7 separate regions of the Homo sapiens genome follow, and regions 1, 2, 3, 4, 5 and 6 are each linked to region 7. Evidence: promoter capture Hi-C in 16 types of primary human blood cells and fetal thymus (Javierre and others, 2016). All regions are on one chromosome and are shown on one strand. The core of a region is centred on a gene start or on the middle of the fragment in contact, and the rest is flanking DNA. Distances in the headings are between cores, read along the strand shown.

Region 1 (2,700 bases), core at 1-2,500, 250 kb after region 7:
CATCAATATATCTGAAGAATACACAAACACACACACACACAATCAGGAATTGTGAAATAAATTTGCCAATAGAAGCAAAACTCTTAATAGCTATAAGACAATACAACTCAAGACTTAGAATAACCTTTTCCACAGGGTAGAAATCAATTGTATTCTGCCAGGAAAAATCATTTGCATTTCTATAAGCAAGAATCATTTATATTATTACATTTTTTTTTACAATTTATGACTTGTAAAATAAGCCTAAATCCTATAGAATGAGATAATCCTAGAGGGTCATCCAGAGAACATCTAATATTCTCATTAAAAACACACTAATATGGTTTGCCTGTGTCTCCACCCAAATCTCACTTTGAATTGTAATAATCCCCATGTGTCAAGGGTGGGGCCAGGTGGAGATAATTGAATAATGGAGGCAGTTTCCCCCATGTGGTTCTTGTCGTAGTGAATAAGTTTCAGGAGATCTGATGGTTTTATAAATGAGAGTTACCCTGCACAAGCTCTCTTGCCTGCTGCCATGTAAGATGTGACTTTCTCCTCTTTTGCCTTCTGCCATGATTGTGAGGTCTCCCTGGCCACGTGGAACTGGCAGTCCATTAAATCTCTTTTTCTTTATAAATTACCCAGTCTCAAGTCTGTCTTTACTAGCAGTGTGAGAACTGACTAATACAACACCCAGTAATCTCTTTTGCCATTTCAAATCATTTACATTTTTTTTCCTACAGAGCAATGGAAAAACTTTTGGAGACTTTTAATCAGGAGAGTAATATGACCTGATTTACATTTTGAAAACATCACCTTTACTGTACAGTTGATCTTTGTATAGCATAGGTTTGAACTGTGCAGGTTCACTTATATGTGGATTTTTTTCAATAAACCTATTGGAAAAATTTTTGGAGATTTTTGACAATTAGAGAAAACTTGCAGATGAACTGCATGGCCTATAAATATCAAAAAAATAAGAAAAAGGTATGTTAGAAATGCATGAAATATATGCAGATACTAGTCTGTTATCATTTATCATATCAAAATATATGCAAATCTATTATAAAAAGTTAAAAAATCAAAACTTGCACACACAAACACAGATCACAGATGGTGCCATTTACAGTACGGAGAAATGTTAAAAAAGTAAACACATATTAAATCATAACTGCATAAAATAACTGTAGCACATACTATACTACTTTTATAATATAATATATGCTTCCTCTCCCACCTCCTCTACCTCTTCCACCTTTATCACCCCTGAGACAGCAAGACCAACCCTCTCCTTTCTCCTGTTCCTCAGACTACTCAATGTGAAGATGATGAGGATGAAGACCTTTATAATGATCCACTTCCACTTAATGAATAGTAAGTATGTTTTCTCTTCTTCATGATTCTCTGAATAACATTTTCTTTTCTCTAGCTTTCTTTATTACAAGAATACAGTATACAATACACATATCATACAAATATGTGTTAATTGACTGTTAATGTCCTCAGTAAGGCTTCTGGTCAATAGTAGGCTATAAGTAGTTAAGTTTTCGGGTCTGGACTCAAGCGATCCTCCCACCTCAGCCTCCTAAGTAGCTGGGACTACAGGCATGCAGTACCATGCCTGGATAATTTTGAATTTTTTTTGTAGAGATAGGGATTTGCCATTTTTCCCAGACTGGTCTCAAATTCCTGGGCTCAAGTGACCTGCCTGCCTTGGCCTCCCCAAAGTAATGGGATTACAGGCATGAGTTGTTTTGGAAGATTCAAAAGTTATACATGGATTTTCAGCTGCACAGGGTGTCAGTGTCCCTAATCCCCTCGTTGTTCAAGGGTCAACTATATTCTTCTTTCAGTCCATTATCATTGACTAATAATAAAATATTGTGTCTTTTTCACTATTATGTTCCCAGTGTCTAGCACAGTTCCTGGCAAAATGATTAATAGCCAGAAAATGTTTGTTAAATGAATGAGAAAACAAACGGACTTTGATATGGTTTGGCTCTTTTCCCCACATAAATCTCATCTCAAATTTTAATTCCCATAATCTCCATGTGTGGAGGGTGGGACCAGGTGGAGGTAATTGAATCATGGGGGCTGTTCCCCCCTGCTGTTCTTGTGATGGTGAGAGTTCTCACGAGATCTGATGGTTTTATAATGGGATCTTCCCCCTTCGCTCAACACTTCTCCTTCCTTTCACCTAGTGAAGGAGGTGCCTTACTTCCTCTTCACCTTTTGTCATGATTGTAAGTTTCCTGAGGCCTCCCAAGCCATGCTGAACTGTGAGTCAATAAACCTTTTTCTTTTATAAATTACCCAGTCTCAGGCAGTTCTTTATAGCAGTATGAAAATGGACTAGTACAGACTTAGTGACTGAAATAATGTGGAAAGTTGAGCAGATGCTGAAGCTATTTACAGAGTAAGAGAATGAGTTGGAGTAGAATTTGAAAGGAAAATAGCACTGCCTTTCTTTAATGCTTTTTGATACCTCTGTGAGAGAGAGATTGGTTAGATCTTCATCGAACCTGCTTCCTCATTGGAACACAGCTGGAATCCATTTCCCAGACTGCCTCATGGTCAGATGTGGCCATGTGACTGAGTTCCGGCCAATGGAGTATGAGTAGTAGGGACTCCAGGACTGGCTCATTCAGTCTTCTACCACACAATCTTCTTCCTCTTTCTCCTTCTACTGGATGGATATTGATAACCAGAGTCATTTTG
Region 2 (2,700 bases), core at 108-2,607, 200 kb before region 7:
CAGTATTTTATGAAAAGAAAGTCATAGCAGTGTGCTGGCAGGCAGACTCTACAGATGGGGAGGGGACTGGGAACTGGACCAAGGCTAAGTGGCAATCTGGTTGACAACAGAGAAGAGTCTGGGGGGAAGCAACTAGCTCTCGTAGTGGTTTATGACATCAGTCACCACCAGCAGGGGCTGCCAGCTGGTGCAATACCAGGGACCCAAGCAGGTGGGTGAAGCCAATAATGAGAAAGCATGCAGGAGACACTTGCAAATTCAGACCACAGGCTGGCAGCTCTTGGGTAGTGAAGCCTGGCCACTGGGCTGATATTCAGAACAAGAATTTAGAAGGTAGAATTAACACCTGAAACTGAAGCATGTGGAAGCATTTGGCGAAAGAATTGCTGTTTGAAAAGAGGCTAAACTGCAGCTGGAAACTTGGCATGGAAGCCCAAAAGCCCTGGGTCTCAAGTCTGTGTAACGTGGAGGTGGGCTGAGATGATTTCAACACCTTCTGCTTCAAATTCCCATTTGCTGGTAACTAGGAAGGCTGTGCTATGGGAAGGTTGAAGAGGACAGCTGCAGGTGACAAGAGGTGGGGCCAGTACGGATTATGGTGGAAATCTATGTTTACCATTAAACAGAGGCTGGAACTAGTTAACTCTGAGGAAAAGTCAGGAAGTAACCACACACTTAGTCTGCATAGTTGTTGCGTTCAGATTGTTTTGGAGTGAACATAAGGCACCAAGATTTAGTGAATGAAAGATGAGACAAAGAGTCAAAATGCTGGAACTTAACAGACTCATTTCTATCAGTGGTCTTGGCATGGACAAGGCACTGAATCTCTCTAAGAGGCAGTGTCATTATCTATAAAAGTGTATCTGCCTTGTTGTCCTCAATTCCCCAAACATTAATCTGTGCCAAATGTGATGCTAGGGACAAAGATGAGGAATGAGTGGCCCCTACCTTGGGGAGGCCACAGTCTTCCAGTCTCCCAAGAGACAGCAGGAGAAATAGAAAAGGATGAGGCATTGACACGTACTGTGTTCCAGACTCGGTGCTTCACACATGTGATCTCATTTAAATATTTTATAAAGTGATCGGGCAGGTATTATTATTTCCTCTCTCAAGGATGAAGCGATGAAGGCTCAAAGAAGGATTCCAAGGTCATCATTTGGGTAAATGGGGAAGCCATGTCTTGAGCCCAGGTATGTCATCCCTTAAATCCCAGGATTTTCCCAACATCCCCCACTGTTCAGGAGAGAGAGAGATGGGTAAAAAACTCACCTTATATGTTTGAAGGCCAGCATCGATTGGAACCCAGGGAGGAGGCAGAAATGTTTTTTCTGAGTTTAAAAAATGTTGACATATGGGGGAAGATGAAAAAGGGCATTTAGGAAATTCAGGTAGTATGATTTGTGTGACAGTGGATTTTCTTCAGCTGCAGACAGAATCTGAGGGTGTGAAATTGCAAAGGTAACCTTCTCATCCTATATAGCCTTTCCCACTAAGGAGTCTGGGCACATGCAAGCTGTGTGCAAAAGCATCATCTATCCCTGGGGAGATGAAAGGGTGGCCTTAATGGGACAGGAGGAAAATCAATAATGTATCACTTTGGAGCAAGGAGCTGGGTGACCAAGCACAAAATGTCAGCAGCCTGACAAGGCAAAGGCAGCCTTGGCCTGGGGCAACTGATATTGATTGTAATAAGCCCAAAACAATTAGCTTATGAATCTGCCTCCCAACTACTTTGCGTTCCTTCTCAAAATACGTACTTTTAGATCCACAATGAACCATTGCCCCCTGGAAGGCTGGTTCTGCTATTTGGAAGGACATGAAGAGTCATGCCACATGGCTGTTAGCTCCTCATCACACAGGGTTTGGCAAAAGGAAGAAGGGGTTTTAGAATGTCTGAGGCCTACAGGATCACAGGCAGGGTCATACAAATGACAAACAACATTGTACTGGCATTGAACTTAAATTCTAGAGTCCTGAGTGTTAGTTCTAGAGAAGTCATTAATTTGACGTGTAACTTTGAGAAAGTCACTTTACCTCTCTGGGCCTGTTTCCTTGCCTTTAAAATGAAAGGAATAAGCTAAAAATGTTCTTTATATGGCTTGTTTTGGTAGATGCATACTTTTGGGGTGTGTTTGTGTGTCTGCGTTTGCATGTGTGTTCTCTCTGAGGGATCACAACTAAGAATCGTTGACTCTATCCCTCCTTGGCTCATAGAATGTCCCTTGCACAATTTTGTGCGTAGGAATGTGCTGGATGCCTGAGATACAATATACACGTGATAGTTAATGTTATGTGCCAATTTGGTTGGGTAACAAGTGCACAGATATTTGGTCAAACATTATTCTAAGTGTGTCTGTGAGGGTGTTTCTGGATGAGATTAGCACTGGAATCAGTAGACTGAGTGAAGTAGATGGGCTCCCTGTGTGGGTGGGCCACATCCAATCACTTTAAGTCCTGATGAGAACATAAAAGTTGACCCCTTTTTGAGTAAAAGGGAACTCCTACTTGACTGCCTTCTGGCTGGGACGTTATTTCTTTTTTCAGCCTTCGTACTGGCACTGCAACATTGAACATTCTAATTCTCAGACCTTCAAACTCAGACTGAAACTATACCATTGGCTTTTCTCCAGCTTGCTAACTGCAGATTTGGGGACTTTTCAGCCTCCAAAATCATGTGAGCCAACTCGTTATAGTAAATCA
Region 3 (2,700 bases), core at 46-2,545, 250 kb before region 7:
TCTAAAAGTCAGTGCAACTCTAGGAAGTGGGTGTACCATCTCACTCTTTCCACATCCTCTTGGCCTCCCTTTGGACTCCATGGGGCTGTAGGATGGTGCTGTGTTGATCTGCACCTCAGTGAAAACACCTCTCTGCCATCAACTTCCAGTTTGTCCCTACAGCTTTCCTGACTCCACAGTGGGCTACCTGGATTTAAGCCCTGCCTTCCCTGAGGTCTGCTGTGCTGGAAACTCTCCTGAGCATCATGACTCAAACCATGCAGCCTAAAAGGACCAGTATATGAGTCAGCTGATTCTCTTCCCCTTTCAGGCAAGCAGTTGATGTCTTAGAACCCTGTTCTTTTTCTAACTAGCATTAGAGGCCTGGTTAAGCGAGAACAGCTCTTTCTTCTGTTAAGAGGATATATATTCGGGAGGGTCCGGAGACATTTGAATCAAGACTCCCTAGTTCCTTCCCAAAGGAGATAAGAATCCCCATTGGGCCTTGAAGCTTTGAGGACCAGGTCTGTTTCTGAAGCATTCTTGTAAAAAGGTACAAACCTTCAGGTCTAGTTTAAATTCATTTCTATTATGTAGCCCCAAAGATCTTGGCTCAGGGGTTACTTTAGACCTCCCGATAGCTCTCAGAATTCCAAGCATATGCCCTATGGGCTTTCCTAGGTCTTCTCCATGTACTGAAATGTCAAAGACAGGGAAGCAAGAGCTTGGCTCATGTCCTCATCATCTCTCTTCTGGGCTACTGCTGTCATTTTTTCACTGGTCTCCTTTCCCCAGTATCATTTCATGAGTGCCTGCAAATGAGTAAATGAATGAACACAATCTCACTCTTTTCTAATTCATCCTTTCCACCAGGGGTCTCCAATCCCTGGGCCATGGACCAGTATCAGTCTATGGCCTGTTAGGAACCAGGCCTCACAGTAGCAGGTGAGAGACAGGCAATCAAGCAAAATTTCATCTGTATTTACAGCTGCTCCTCATCACTGGCATTACCACCTGAGCTCCACCTCCTGTGAGATCAGTGTTGGCATTGGATTCTAATAGAAGCATGAACCCTATTGTGAACTGTGCATGCAAGGGATCTAGGTTGTGTGCTCCTTATGAGACTGTAATGACTGAGGATCTGTCACTGTCTCCCATCACCCCTAGATGGGACCTTGTAGTGCAGAAAAACAGGCTCAGGGCTCCCACTGATTATACATTATGATGAGTTGTAAAATTATTTCATTATATATTACAAGGTAATAATAATAGAAATAAAGTGGACAATAAATGTAATACACTTCATTCATCCCTCCAATCCGGTCTGTGGAAAAATTGTCTTCCACAAACCTGTCCCTGATGTCGAAAATGTTGGGGACCACTGCTTTACACTGTTGTTAAAGAAGCAGCTTTAAAGGGCAAAAATCAAGTCAAGTTGCTCCCATTTCCATAGCTCCTCAGTCCCTAGAGCACAGCAGCCCAGAAGAGCATCTAGAACATTTGGAGTTACCTGTCTTCCAACCTTATGTCCTGAGACTGCCTGTGTCTGCCTTTACGTTGTGACCACTAGTGTAATCCAAACTCTCTGATTTTGTTCTTTTAGCTCCTTCTACTCGGAGAAACTTCCCCTTCACTAATGGGAGACATCTTTGTGATTGTTTAGGGTCCAGGTAAAATTTCACATCTCGAAGAGGGAATGCTATAGAATCCAATACACCTTGGCCTGATCACTGCCCCATCATGTGCTAACTCTGTGGACACAAGGGAATGTATTACTCTCTTCATGCCCAACTTTGCTTAGCTTTATATTGTGGAAAACAATATCTACCTCTTAAGATTAATGTAAGGATTGTTAAAAAATGAACTTAGGCATATTAACATTCTAATGAGTTTGAGCATTCAGCATTTCATGACCTGGGCAGCATTAGACCACAAGTGGTTTGGCACTCCACTGAAGGGGTGCGAAGGGGATACTTTTATACGGTGTTTGTGAAAGAAAGACAGAGGAAGCATTTGATTGGTTAAAATGGAAAGTCCCTAGTTAGAGATTAGTTGGTGGTTTCTGATTGGTAAAGTCCCTAGTTAGAAGCTACTTGGTGATTTCTGATAGGATAAGCTTAAGCTTTGTTTCACTGTTTACATTGAGTTGGGTTTTGGTTTGCTTAGGAAGAGACCCAGGGTGCTGGAGTTTCTGCAGCCTACTGGCCTCCTATTAAGCATTTTCATAGGATAAATACATTTATGTACATAAAGCAACTAGCTTTGTACTTGGCAAAATAGGTGAATAAGCCATTTAATTTTTTATCCCAATAAGCCATAGTTTCCTTTTTCTTCCTTTTTATTCTTTGAAGCCCTTTTCAAACTCTCAGTGGGGGTTAACTCTCCTCTGTGCTGCCATTCTCCAAGGAGCCATTTCTCTTGCTAGATGGTATGCTTCACAGGCCGGTACCTTGTCTTATCTTTTGTATTCCCAGTTCTAGCTCAGTCTCTAGCCCAAGGCAAGTAAGAACTCCATTAAAAAACTGAAATAGTAAATAGCTGATGCATGGGAGCCTCTCCATGGGAAGGTGGAAAAGACAGTGCAGGTGGAATTGTGATCTCCTAGTAGGAAACAAAAGCTATTTTCTATTTACTTCCAAAAGACTTCACTACTCAGCACTATAGAACCTTGGGGTGTCAAAGAGCTGGCAGCAGAGTCAGAGATAATCAGAGCTTTAAACT
Region 4 (2,700 bases), core at 44-2,543, 220 kb after region 7:
ATCTTCCTGATATCCCAATATCTAATAATTGAACGCTTGTTTTTCCTATCTCAGCTCAAACAGTATAAACAGTATTTCCTTGAGGAGACTCTCCAGAATAAGTAAGGACTTCCTATTTCCTGATTCTGCCATGTGCTACACTTTTTCTTCATGACCCTAACCATGCTTATATGTTCAGTGTTTCTCTTTCCACTCCCTGGGACCAGGAACAGAGTTGTGTCTCTAGTGTGTAGCACAGTACTGGGCACATAGAAAGAACCCAGACTTTGTGGAATGAACAACCAGAGCAGGCATTTATGCACCCAAGTTACAGATGAAGACAATGAGAACAGCATGCCATAGCTAGTTATGGTCCAAAGAGAATGAGACACACATGGAGAAGGCCTGAACTCAAACTGAAAATTGGAGTCAAGCTCAACAGAGACTAGGCTGGATTACTCAACCTGGAGCTGACCCAAAATTACATGAGTTAGTATAAAAGATGGTTTATTTTAAGCCATTGACTTTTGAGATATTTCTTATACAGCATTACTGTGACAATAACTGACTGATATGGGTGGGTTCTGACAAGTGAGATATTTTGTAGAAAGTATAAAAATTCATTACAGCAGTATCTATTAATGATTAGATTGATCACGGTCAGGGAGTGAGTGTACGGTATGAACAGCATGGTTCAGAAAGATTATAACTAGCCCAAGGCCAAAATGTTGCTAAGTGGCAAGCTTGGGTTCAAACTCCAGTCTTCTGAAAATAATAAACCTTGTTCTACTTTTCCACAGATGCTCCTGTTGAATTCGGCAGCACTCTGGTGATAAAAACCTACTTCTGTGGCTGTTTCTCTGTAAGTCTATGTTAGGATACTTTTGCCTCTGGGATCTTAAGACCTACAGGAGTTGCTCAGGTAATAAGTAAATGCAGGAGCTTTAGGGAAGAAAGAAGGAAGGAAGGGATGAAGGAAGGAAGGAAAGAAGGAAGAAGAAAGGAAGGAAGGAGGAAAGAAGAAAGGAGGGAAGGAAGGAAGGAAGAAAAGAAAGAAGGAAGGAAGGGAGAAAAGAAAAGAAAAAAGAGAAGAAAAGAAAAGCAACTGTCCATCCATGCAGATGAAATATATCCTTTCATTTAGGAAGCAACAAGAGTTATAACAATGTAGTTCTGGATGAACTGTCTGGCTGTGTCCCATCATTCGCATTTGGAAGGTATCATGACTTTGATAAATGCCAGTGAGAAGTCCTGGGTTGATGACTGGATGACACTTTTCCAGATTCATAGTACCAGAGCACATGGGAGTTTAACTGTCCCATAAATACTAGGTGCTATCTCTCCCCTGCTCAGAAAGCTCCCAAATCTGTTCATCTCAATGCTTTGCTGCCTCCTTCAGCACACTGTAGATTTTCCCAGCAATGTTTTGTGGTTCATTTAAGTCACCACTCATGTCCCCAGGCCAAAGCTGGGAGGAGGGAAGAGAGAATAAAAGAGCAACCTATGTATAGTGTTCCAAATGCCCACACACTTGTGCCTACATCAATTGAGCCCTCTTCTTTTGACTGCCTGAGTTGCTCCAGAATTGTGACAGGTGCTGAAAAACATACATTAACCCTTTCATGTCACTGGAAGACACGAGAGTGCCAGGATCAGAGTTTTCAAGGAGTAAAATGTAAACTAGAATCTTCTCACTAGAGTGCTCTTTGGACAGAGAGACGACTTTAAATTTCACATGGGTGAGACACAGAGCTATCACAAGTGATTTGGAGCAACAGTTATCTCAGAGCCTAGTACAGAAACTTCCACAAAGCAGAGACTTAATAAGATTTTGTTGGGCAAATAAATGAATAAACTGCATCTGTGGCACCATAAGATAAGCTTAGAAAATTCTTCCCCACGACCAAGCACTAAAACCCCTCTCCTCCAGCCAGTTGCCTCAACAGTAGCTCTGCCAGGTCTCCATTGAAGACAGAATCTGAGCTCCTTCTGGAAGATCATATAAAAAATATAGACTTCAAAGCCACAAAGGCAATAAATTCTCACTTCAAATCTAATACGTGTTTTAAGCAGGCTGCCTGAAATATAAATATCTGTTTCAAAAATAAACTTGGGTCCTTGAAATATAATCACATTGCTGTGTATAGGAAAAGTGATGGTGCTTTCTTGATAAAGACTGAACTATGCTCATCTCTTCTTGGGAACTCATCCTTTTACCAAGTTATCTACATCTCTCCACATGCAGCATTAGCTGAACTTGAAAGAAAAATATTAAACCAAGATGTCAGGACAATAAATAAGAAATTTAGGGACAAATATAAACCCAGATATTGCCATTAATTTTTTGTACCACAAGTGAATGTTACCTAAACCTAATGTCCTACCTTAAAATTGATTATCACCATCCTGAACTTCCCCCTCAAATATCAATTGTAATAAATAATATATAAATAATATATACAATAATATCATAATGATCAAATGATAATGATTAATAATAATAACTACATGTGTATATATGGCACTTAAGTCTTTCTGAATGGTTTTTTTACATGCCATTCTCCCAAACACTCTGGGATAAGGGAGGTATTTAATGGGTGAATGAAATAAAACTTAGAGATGGTGGCTGATTCATATGTATCTAAGGTCCTCACCAGTAATCCTGCATGCTGGTCTTCATTTCCTTCTAGAATACCATACACTCTCTCCATGACCATGATC
Region 5 (2,700 bases), core at 191-2,690, 220 kb before region 7:
GGCCTGCCATCTGTCATGTTGATATCTTACTGCTACAAAGAGTCTGTTTTGTCAATCTTAAAGTTGCTGTTTGAATGTAAATACTGGTCAGATGTGCCTGAATTCCACAGGGAGGAAAGTGTAATGTGACATGCCTGACCACCTATTCCCATCATGGCCTGAACTAGTGTTTCAGGTTTAGTGTTTTAGAAGGCCCTTGGCTGAGAGAAGGGGGTCCATTCAGTTGGTTGAGGGACTTAGAATTTTGTTTTTGGTTTAATGATGGCAATTTGATTTTTTTTTTTTTTTTTTTTTTTTGAGACGGAGTCTCGCTCTGTCGCCCAGGCTGGAGTGCAGTGGCGCGATCTCGGCTCACTGCAAGCTCCGCCTCCCGGGTTCACGCCATTCTCCTGCCTCAGCCTCCCAAGTAGCTGGGACTACAGGCGCCCGCTACCACGCCCGGCTAATTTTTTTTTTGTATTTTTAGTAGAGATGGGGTTTCACCGTGTTAGCCAGGATGGTCTCGATCTCCTGACCTCGTGATCCGCCCGCCTCGGCCTCCCAAAGTGCTGGGATTACAGGCGTGAGCCACCGCGCCCGGCCGGCAATTTGATTTCTATGTCCTAATTTGTTCTCTGAGATAGGGTTTCCACTTGGCTTCTTAATAAGATTCATTTAGTAGTCTCTAATTTGGTTGGAGACATTTCTTTCATTTTAATTCTCAGGAGCATTCTTTCTAGACTATTGGGTATCTCAAATGGCTTAAAATGTCAGGTTTGGGCCACAGTAATGTATTCTCTGTTTTTTTTAATCAGAAAGTGGATGACACGTGTGTGCATGTCAGCAAACTCTCATTATTAAAAAGTTCCCTCTGTCCTTTAGTCTTTGACTGTCATGAGCAAGGAGACCTTTGGCCAGGGTAATAAAGATGACTAATGATGGGGCTCAGGACATACTACCCCAAATATGCCTTTTTGGCCTAAGGATTATTTTGAGCTATTTTGGGAAATAGCAAACACAGAGAAGCTTTGAAAACAAATTAGTTTTGAAAACAGTTATGATTTCATAAGATAAATTTACATCTGTAAAGAAAACCTCCATTGTAAGGGTGTCTCCTTTCTGCATCAGAAAGAAAAGAAGAACTAATTCCCTAGAGAAGGCATCAACTTAAATCTAGTTATCAAATATTATGCTTCTTTAACGGTGCTTTTCCTGGCCAACTTTTCTTTTTCTTTTTTTTTTTTTTTTTTTTTGAGACAGAGTCTTACTCTGTCACCCAGGCCAGAATGCAGTGGCATGATCTTGGCCCACTGCAACCTCTGCCTCCTGGGTTCAAGCAATTCTCCTGCCTCAGCCTCCTGAATAGCTGGGATTACCGGCAACCACCACCACGCCTGGCTAATTTTTGTATTTTTAGTAGAGATGGAGTTTCAACATGTTGGCCAGACTGGTCTCGAACTCCTGACCTTGTGATCTGCCTGCCTCAGCCTCTCAAAGTGCCGAGATTACAGGTGTGAGCCACCATGCCCAGCCATGGCCAACATTTCTTAATTGCATCATTCCCCTCAGCCTTCTCTCTTTGTTTCAGAGAAGGATAGTACTTAAGGGTGAGGTCTAGGATAATTCTTTGAGATCTGCTGCAGAGATTTACTCATTTCTCTGGGTTGTCTCCCATAGGTACACATTTTATCAGAATTCTGTTTGTTTTTCTCTTGTTAATTTGTCTTTTTTACAGAGAAGCTCAGAAAAAACTCATCAAGGTGAAAGAGAAAATTTATTGTTTTCTCCCCTACACTTTCTGGAACTTGGGCTCTGAGGCTGCTCTGGCTTAATCGGTCAAGCATCTGGGTCCTGGGTCTGAGTTCAAATCCTGATCCTTCTTGCTGTGCAAGCTTGGGAGAACGATCTCACCAACCTTGCACAGGTACTGCCCGTTTAAGATGTAGACCATAGTCCCTTTATTACAGGACCTTGTATGGATTAAATGAGTTACTGGGTGAAAAGCGCTGAGAAGAGTGCCTGTCACAGAGTAACTGCTGTTATTGCAAGTAAAGAATCAGAACTATGCTAAATTCACAGTCAGCCTGGGAAAAATGTCAAAAGGAGTGCACATGAATGGTCAATGGACCAAAGACCCTTAGATTTGATAAAGATATGAGCTTTGTGTCTTATTTCCTAATGTTAAGTAAAAATTATGAAAGGCTATTGTTTTGTATTAGGCCCCAACAGACCAGACTAAAAATCAAAATGGAGTCACCCATGCCAAAGTTCCATATCACCAAACTGAAAATAAGTTGTTATTTCATCTTCCCCAAAATCAGGACAGAGCAGTAACAGCCAATGTTCCAAGCAGACCAGTTTCCGTCTTTAATGAGCAGGATAACGAAGTTCCCTCTGTTTTAATCCTTACAACAAAAGTAACCCGACGTAACCTGATGCTAACAAATCTGTTATTTCTCTATTGTTCTGTTTCCTTGTTCTCACCTTGTAAGGGAGGTAACTTTCAAAGGACGAGTCCACATTTTGTTCTTTGCTTCTGGTTTCTTCAACCCCCTCTGTCTATAAAATGAATCCCCTCTGCTCAACTCTTTGGGACACTTATTCTATTTTATGGAATGAGACATTGCCCAATCCTAGAATTGCAATAAAGCTAGTCGAGATCTTCAAACTAAACGTGTAATTTTGTCCTTTGGCAAATCTGGTGACCACAAAGGAAACTGA
Region 6 (2,700 bases), core at 201-2,700, 190 kb after region 7:
GTGCTGCAGTGAACACACATGGGGCACTTTCAATTAACAACAGGAACCTAACTAAACCCAACTAAAGGATATTATAATATAAATTATTTTTAACTGAAATGTATTTCTTCTCATTAAACAGTTTTGGAATATATATAAAGGATAATCCTGCCACCCAGGAGGACTCCTGAAATTGATTATTCTAAGTCATGGTCGCTCATGAGACAGTTACACCCACTCTGTGCCAGGCATGTTCTGTGTGCTTTATGTACTCAGTTAATCCTTCTAATCATATGAGCTAGCTACTATTAATATTATCATTTTACTTGTAAGAAAACTGAGACATAGAGGGGGTAGGTAACAGAGCTGAGGCCCCTCAGCAAGAAGGATTGGAGCTAGGACTAGGGCTGATGTGTTTCCGGAAGGAGGCCCTGCCCTCTGCATTCCACTGGGTCACATGTGGTGTGAGAGTTTAAGATTCTCCTTGGAACCTTTGGCACATTCTGTATACAAACAATTGCAGAGAGGAGTTGAATAAGGCTCCCTTTGGAAGGAAGCATAGTGATATTCTATCTGGTAGAATCTGCCACATCTTACCTTAATATTCCCACTTTAAGCACCAGCCTGGGACACCTGGTGCCATTTCCCAAAGGGTCACTGTGTAGGCAAAGTAAAGAGATGCCCCAAGAAAGTGATTTGAGGAATTCCAAATCCTTTGTGAACTAAAATATCTACTCCTGTCCTACCATAAGGACCGAACCTCTTACCCATTACAACTATGTGTCTTCAAGAGTACCCATGATTGGACTGGGGTAGTGGTGTGTGCTGAGGGATGGCTGCTTGCCTGGAAGATGATGAGTGTGCTGCTCTTTATGGTGGTGAGAGACAGAACTAGCTGGATTTCCTAGGCCGACTAAGAATCCCTAAGCCTAACTGGGAAGGTGACCACTTCCACCTTTAAACACGGGGCTTGCAACTTAGCTCACATCCGACCAGTCAGATAGTAAAGAGAGCTCACTAAAATGCTAATTAGGCAAAAACAGGAGGTAAAGAAATAGCCGATCATCTATTGCCTGAGAGCACAGCAGGAGGGAAAATGATCGGGATATAAACCCAGGCATTCGAGCCAGCAAAGGCTACCCCTTTTGGGTCCCCTCCCTTTGTATCGGAGCTCCGTTTTCACTCTATTAAATCTTGCAACTGCACTCTCTTTTGGTCTGTGCTTGTTACTGCTCAAGCTGAGCTTTCGCTCGCTGTCCACCACTGCTGTTTGCCGCTGTCACAGACCCGCCACTGACTTCCATCCCTCCAGATCAGGCAGGGTGTCTGCTGCGCTCCTGATCCAGTGAGTCGCCTATGCCACTCCCTATTCAGCTAAAGGCTTGCCCTTCCTGCACGGCTAAGTGCCCAGGTTCATCCTAATCAAACTGAACACTAGTCACTGGGTTCCACCGTTCTCTTCCGTGACCCGCAGCTTCTAATAGAGCTATAACACTCACCGCATGGCCCAAGATTCCATTCTTTGGAATCTGTCAGGCCAAGAACCCCAGGTCAGAGAACACGAGGCTTGCCACCATCTTGGAAGTGGCCCTCCACCATTTTGGAAGCGGCCCGCCACCATCTTGGGAGCTCTGGGAGCAAGGACCCCCGGTAACAGTGGCACAAAGCAAGCATCATCACTAGGCCCCTCCGCAACCTGGTGGTGTCCATCTGCATCATGTTCATCAACAAAAGGATCCCTAACATGAACCTGACCCTGGGGCATCTTGTGGTCACCTGGCTGCGCTTGCACATCTGTCAGAAATTGGTTATATTTGCCTCAACATGTCTGCCACCCCAAGATCCTCCTTCTGGCCTTTAGCTTCTGTGATTACAAGGTCTTCACCAACTTCTCTCTGCAGGGCAACTCCACAGGCGTCCATCAGCTGATCAAGGTCATCATTACACTGGTGATTATGGCCATGCAGACCCTCTGCTACCAGAAGGCCTTCTTCACCAGAATATAACACAACACTGATTCCTGTAACTTTAGGTGTAATCCTAAATTCTTATTACAATGTGAAATGTAATGTCCTTGGAAGGATGTTTTCTGCTCTCAGTGTTTTAGTTATACCCCCTTATCCAGTGTGGGCAGAAACCAAGCAGAATGAGTTTCAAGTAAACTCAATGCTGCTGCAGCACTATCAAGCACCAATACCTTCTGCTGTTATTGGTTGCTTCTCTGAGTCAGTGCATGGAGAGCAAGAAATATCTAGTCTCTGGTCAGCTTCTGCTTTGCCTATGGTGCAGCTATCTGAAATAATGGTTGTCATGGTGAACTTATCAATTCACTGGGTCACTAGGTACACTTCATCAGTCACCTATGACATGTTTGGGCACTTCAAGTTCTGACTTGCTTTATTTGGAGGACATGTGTTATTTAAAGATCCACTGTTAATTAACCAGAGTCTTGGCATTTTATGTAGTTATTTGGTGTAAGAATAAGAGCTTATATTCATTCTGTACTCTATAAACAGGAAGGAAGAAAATGTAAATTGCTACAAAGTACTCAACTGGGTTTTTATGATGAAAAGAAAGTCACCTCAAGAAGATACAAATCGTTAAATAAGCCAATTACTTTCAAAGAAGTAAAAAAATTGCATGTACAATTTATTGAATGGTAGTTTGCAAGATGTAATAGAAAAGATATTTTATTCTAAAATGAAATCTTCATTTTTAGCA
Region 7 (2,700 bases), core at 115-2,614:
CCTGGCGCCGGCCAAAGTCAGGGGAGCGGGGAGAGGCGGCGTCACCTCCTCCACGCTCCTCCGGCCCCATTCAATCTAGCTATTTGCACTCGGCTCTGGCTCTTTTCCGCCAGCTGCGGCTGTTCCAGAAGCGCCGGGCTGCCGGTCCTGGCCTCGGCAGGGGCCGTGCGGGACCGAGGGGTGGCGGCCGAGGCATGTGGGGCGGGTGGGTTGCGCGCTGCTGGCACGGCGCGGGGACCCAGCGCGCCAGGCGGGAAAGGGGGGCGGCGGCGGGCGGGGACCCAGACCCGGAGGGGCAGCGGGCGCGTAGCGGGCCCCAGGACGCCCGGCCAGGGGATTGGCCTCTGCACCGCTGCTCAGGGCGCGTCCCTTGCCGCCTCTGGCGTCGACTCAAGCCTCCTCCTCCGAGCAGCCCTCAGTGGCGCCGCCTTAGTGCTCTGGGTCGAGCCCCGGGAGGGTTAGCCTGGGGACGGCAGGGGCGTGACCGTGGCGCGGAAGTAGGTGAGCAGCAGGGCGGCGCGCGGCGGTCAGGCCGGGACAGCCAGAGGGGCAGCGACATCTGCGGGCGGGCGGGCGGGAGGCGGACGCTTCCCGGGCGGAGCAGGGCCCTCCGGAGGACGCAGGCCGCGTCGAGGCTGAAGGGCCTCCCTGTCCGGGACGGTCAGCTGCCAAGTTCGGGCCCTTAGCGCGTGGCCCCGGGCCGCGGCTCGGAGCGGAAGCGTCGCCCCTGGCTGCGCGCTCATGCTGGTCCTAGCGCAGAAGACCCGGCGAGGTCCGCGAATTTTGGCTTAGCGTTTGTCAAGTCACCTCGAGCGACTCGGAGAGAACCCGGCTTTCCCACTAGGGACGGTGATCGCAGTCTCTTTCCTTTAGAAAGTTACTCCGATACTTTTGATCATCTGTCCATAGTAAGGAGGAAAAATAGCGTGGTTTGTCCCCGGGTGAGGGAGTGTTGGAGGATCCCGTCCAGTGGGAAGAGCCAGTTTTAGCGGAGCAGCGCGTCCAGCCCGCTGACACTTCAGCCTGGTAAAGGGTTAACTGCATCCTGCCGGTTCGGTTTACATGTAAATAGAGAGCAGCTGCTCCGCGCGGCCCCGGCTGGCTCTTTTAAGTTTTTGATTGGTTGCCAATGACATCACCGCCCGTGTTTTAACACCGAGGACCCAGAGCAGCTTCGGATAAACCCTCCTTAAAGAGATGAGGCCACGCCTTCTTACCCGCCCCCTAGGCTGCCCATTGGTCGCGGGGCTCTGTGAGGTAGCGGTCGGCTTTCTCCGGATTCTTATTGGCCCAACCCGCCGTCGGTCGGCGGCGAGTCCGCCCCCTCAGAACCTTACATTTACAGTGTAGCAAAAGAGAAAGTAACTATGTTGCTGCTGGAGATCAATGAAGCCGAGTGAATGGGGGCTGAATGTGCGAGTCCATAGCTGAAGAGGAGCGCCAGATGGTGGAGGAATACACTTATTTATGAAGTAAGTGGAAGTCACCGCGACTACTCCTGAGAGCCCGGGACTGGAGGTGGAGGATTGTAAGGCGGTGCTTGTGTGAGTGTGAGTGTGTGTGTTTGTGTGTGTGTATCTGTGTGTGTGTGAGAGAGAGACAGAGACAGAAAGATAGAGATGCGATGCTGACGGAGGAGCTACAGCAGGTAGGGTTATAAGGTTCCGGCCGTTGGCTCCTGCTACCCTGTGCGTTTACTCCCTGCAGTCTACTTGGATTTGGGGCGAAGAAAAAATGAGGTTTGTTGGGATGCTTTGCGGCAGTTTTAAATGCTCGGGGCTCATTAGTGCGCTGTGTGCCGAGGAGTGAAGCGGGGGGCGGGGGGATGTTAAGTGCTCCAGGAATGGGGAAGAAGCATTCTCTAACCACTTAATTTTCTCTCCAGCTCTTGCCTAGTGGTGGAAGGGAGAGGGGATAGCTCAGTATTTCTCTGGGAGATTTTCTGGGCCAGACTGGATGGTTTCACGGGCAGTATGTACGCCCGACCCTCTGCTGCAGGGATGCAGGTCTCTCTATACACTCCGTGTGTGTGTGTGTGAGCCTTGAACTCTGTGTGGAGGTGGGGGTCCCAGCGCGTGTCTCTGTGAACACGCTTATGCGTCCCTCTCAGAAGAAATGGTATGTTGATCCTGGACGTGTCCTACCAGGTAACACAATAGCAAAGACTTTCACCGCTTGGTCCAACCGGGAAACAGTTATAGCTTCTGGAATAGAACTCGCTCTTCAGAAAAAATACTACGCAAGGGAAGGGGGGTTGACTCCTTCGCTCCCATCCAAAGGTGGGTGAGAGAAACCCGAGTCGTTGGAGATCTGCCGACGTGATGGGTGCGTGCCCCGTGTGCGCGCGTGAGTGTGGATTCCGCCTGTGACACTTTGGTTCTGTGTCAGAGAATGGTGACGGTCGTGTGTAGACGGATGAGAATGGTGACGGTCGTGTGTAGACGGATGATAGATGGCATTTTTCCTGATAGCTCTTAAAGTTCGTTTAGGTGAGCGTCTCTTGGCGTGGGGTTTGGCGTCTTTGCTATGTGCATGTCTAATAGAAGAAGAAGAGTTAGCAAGCCTGAGTTGTAGAGTGCCCCTGTGCCTACAGGAGGAAGGAGCTGTCTTTTTGCAGACACTCTGAAATCAGAGATAGATCCGGTGGGCAACAATTCACTGTCCCTTTCAACGAGTACAGGCTAATTGGGAGGTCCTCTT

Evidence for each region. Contacts are between HindIII fragments. The CHiCAGO score rates a contact against its expected background, and 5 or more counts as called.
Region 1: a contact is called between a fragment that was not itself captured here and the fragment with the promoter of DUSP10 in region 7, in 1 of 17 cell types (naive CD4 T cells). The highest score is 5.5, in naive CD4 T cells.
Region 2: a contact is called between a fragment that was not itself captured here and the fragment with the promoter of DUSP10 in region 7, in 1 of 17 cell types (total B cells). The highest score is 6.3, in total B cells.
Region 3: a contact is called between a fragment that was not itself captured here and the fragment with the promoter of DUSP10 in region 7, in 3 of 17 cell types (M0 macrophages, M1 macrophages and M2 macrophages). The highest score is 6.7, in M0 macrophages.
Region 4: a fragment that was not itself captured here is called in contact with the fragment with the promoter of DUSP10 in region 7 in 1 of 17 cell types (total CD8 T cells); the score reaches 6.9 in total CD8 T cells.
Region 5: a contact is called between a fragment that was not itself captured here and the fragment with the promoter of DUSP10 in region 7, in 1 of 17 cell types (M0 macrophages). The highest score is 6.5, in M0 macrophages.
Region 6: a contact is called between a fragment that was not itself captured here and the fragment with the promoter of DUSP10 in region 7, in 2 of 17 cell types (M0 macrophages and M2 macrophages). The highest score is 5.9, in M0 macrophages.

What each region holds. Positions count from the first base shown.
Region 1 is chr1:221,490,918-221,493,617 of GRCh38, reverse strand. LOC105372934 (a long non-coding RNA gene) reads left to right here. Exons shown (of 3, transcript XR_922622.2): 3 at 1,292-1,330. Among named protein-coding and RNA genes, the nearest start is that of LINC02817, 160 kb to the right of the region's middle. The HindIII fragment of the contact is 3,246 bases long and covers 1-2,700 here.
Region 2 is chr1:221,937,284-221,939,983 of GRCh38, reverse strand. The region is part of intron 1 of LINC02257 (long intergenic non-protein coding RNA 2257); the gene reads left to right. Among named protein-coding and RNA genes, the nearest start is that of LINC02474, 28 kb to the left of the region's middle. RefSeq lists an enhancer at 315-494. The HindIII fragment of the contact is 3,460 bases long and covers 1-2,700 here.
Region 3 is chr1:221,991,912-221,994,611 of GRCh38, reverse strand. No RefSeq gene overlaps it. Among named protein-coding and RNA genes, the nearest start is that of LINC02257, 15 kb to the right of the region's middle. RefSeq lists an enhancer at 2,124-2,173. The HindIII fragment of the contact is 1,605 bases long and covers 493-2,097 here.
Region 4 is chr1:221,518,755-221,521,454 of GRCh38, reverse strand. No RefSeq gene overlaps it. Among named protein-coding and RNA genes, the nearest start is that of LINC02817, 180 kb to the right of the region's middle. The HindIII fragment of the contact is 1,138 bases long and covers 725-1,862 here.
Region 5 is chr1:221,962,134-221,964,833 of GRCh38, reverse strand. All of the region lies in intron 1 of LINC02257 (long intergenic non-protein coding RNA 2257), which reads left to right. Among named protein-coding and RNA genes, the nearest start is that of LINC02474, 2.9 kb to the left of the region's middle. The HindIII fragment of the contact is 866 bases long and covers 1,008-1,873 here.
Region 6 is chr1:221,549,610-221,552,309 of GRCh38, reverse strand. The region is part of intron 1 of LOC107985462 (a long non-coding RNA gene); the gene reads right to left. It also overlaps the pseudogene LOC100132179. Among named protein-coding and RNA genes, the nearest start is that of DUSP10, 190 kb to the left of the region's middle. The HindIII fragment of the contact is 5,088 bases long and covers 1-2,700 here.
Region 7 is chr1:221,740,753-221,743,452 of GRCh38, reverse strand. DUSP10 (dual specificity phosphatase 10) reads left to right here and starts at 1,364. Exons shown (of 4, transcript NM_007207.6): 1 at 1,364-1,472. RefSeq lists silencers at 128-607, 2,328-2,377 and enhancers at 381-1,018, 828-1,027, 1,358-1,547, 1,019-1,656, 1,657-2,294 and 1 more. The HindIII fragment of the contact is 7,400 bases long and covers 1-2,700 here.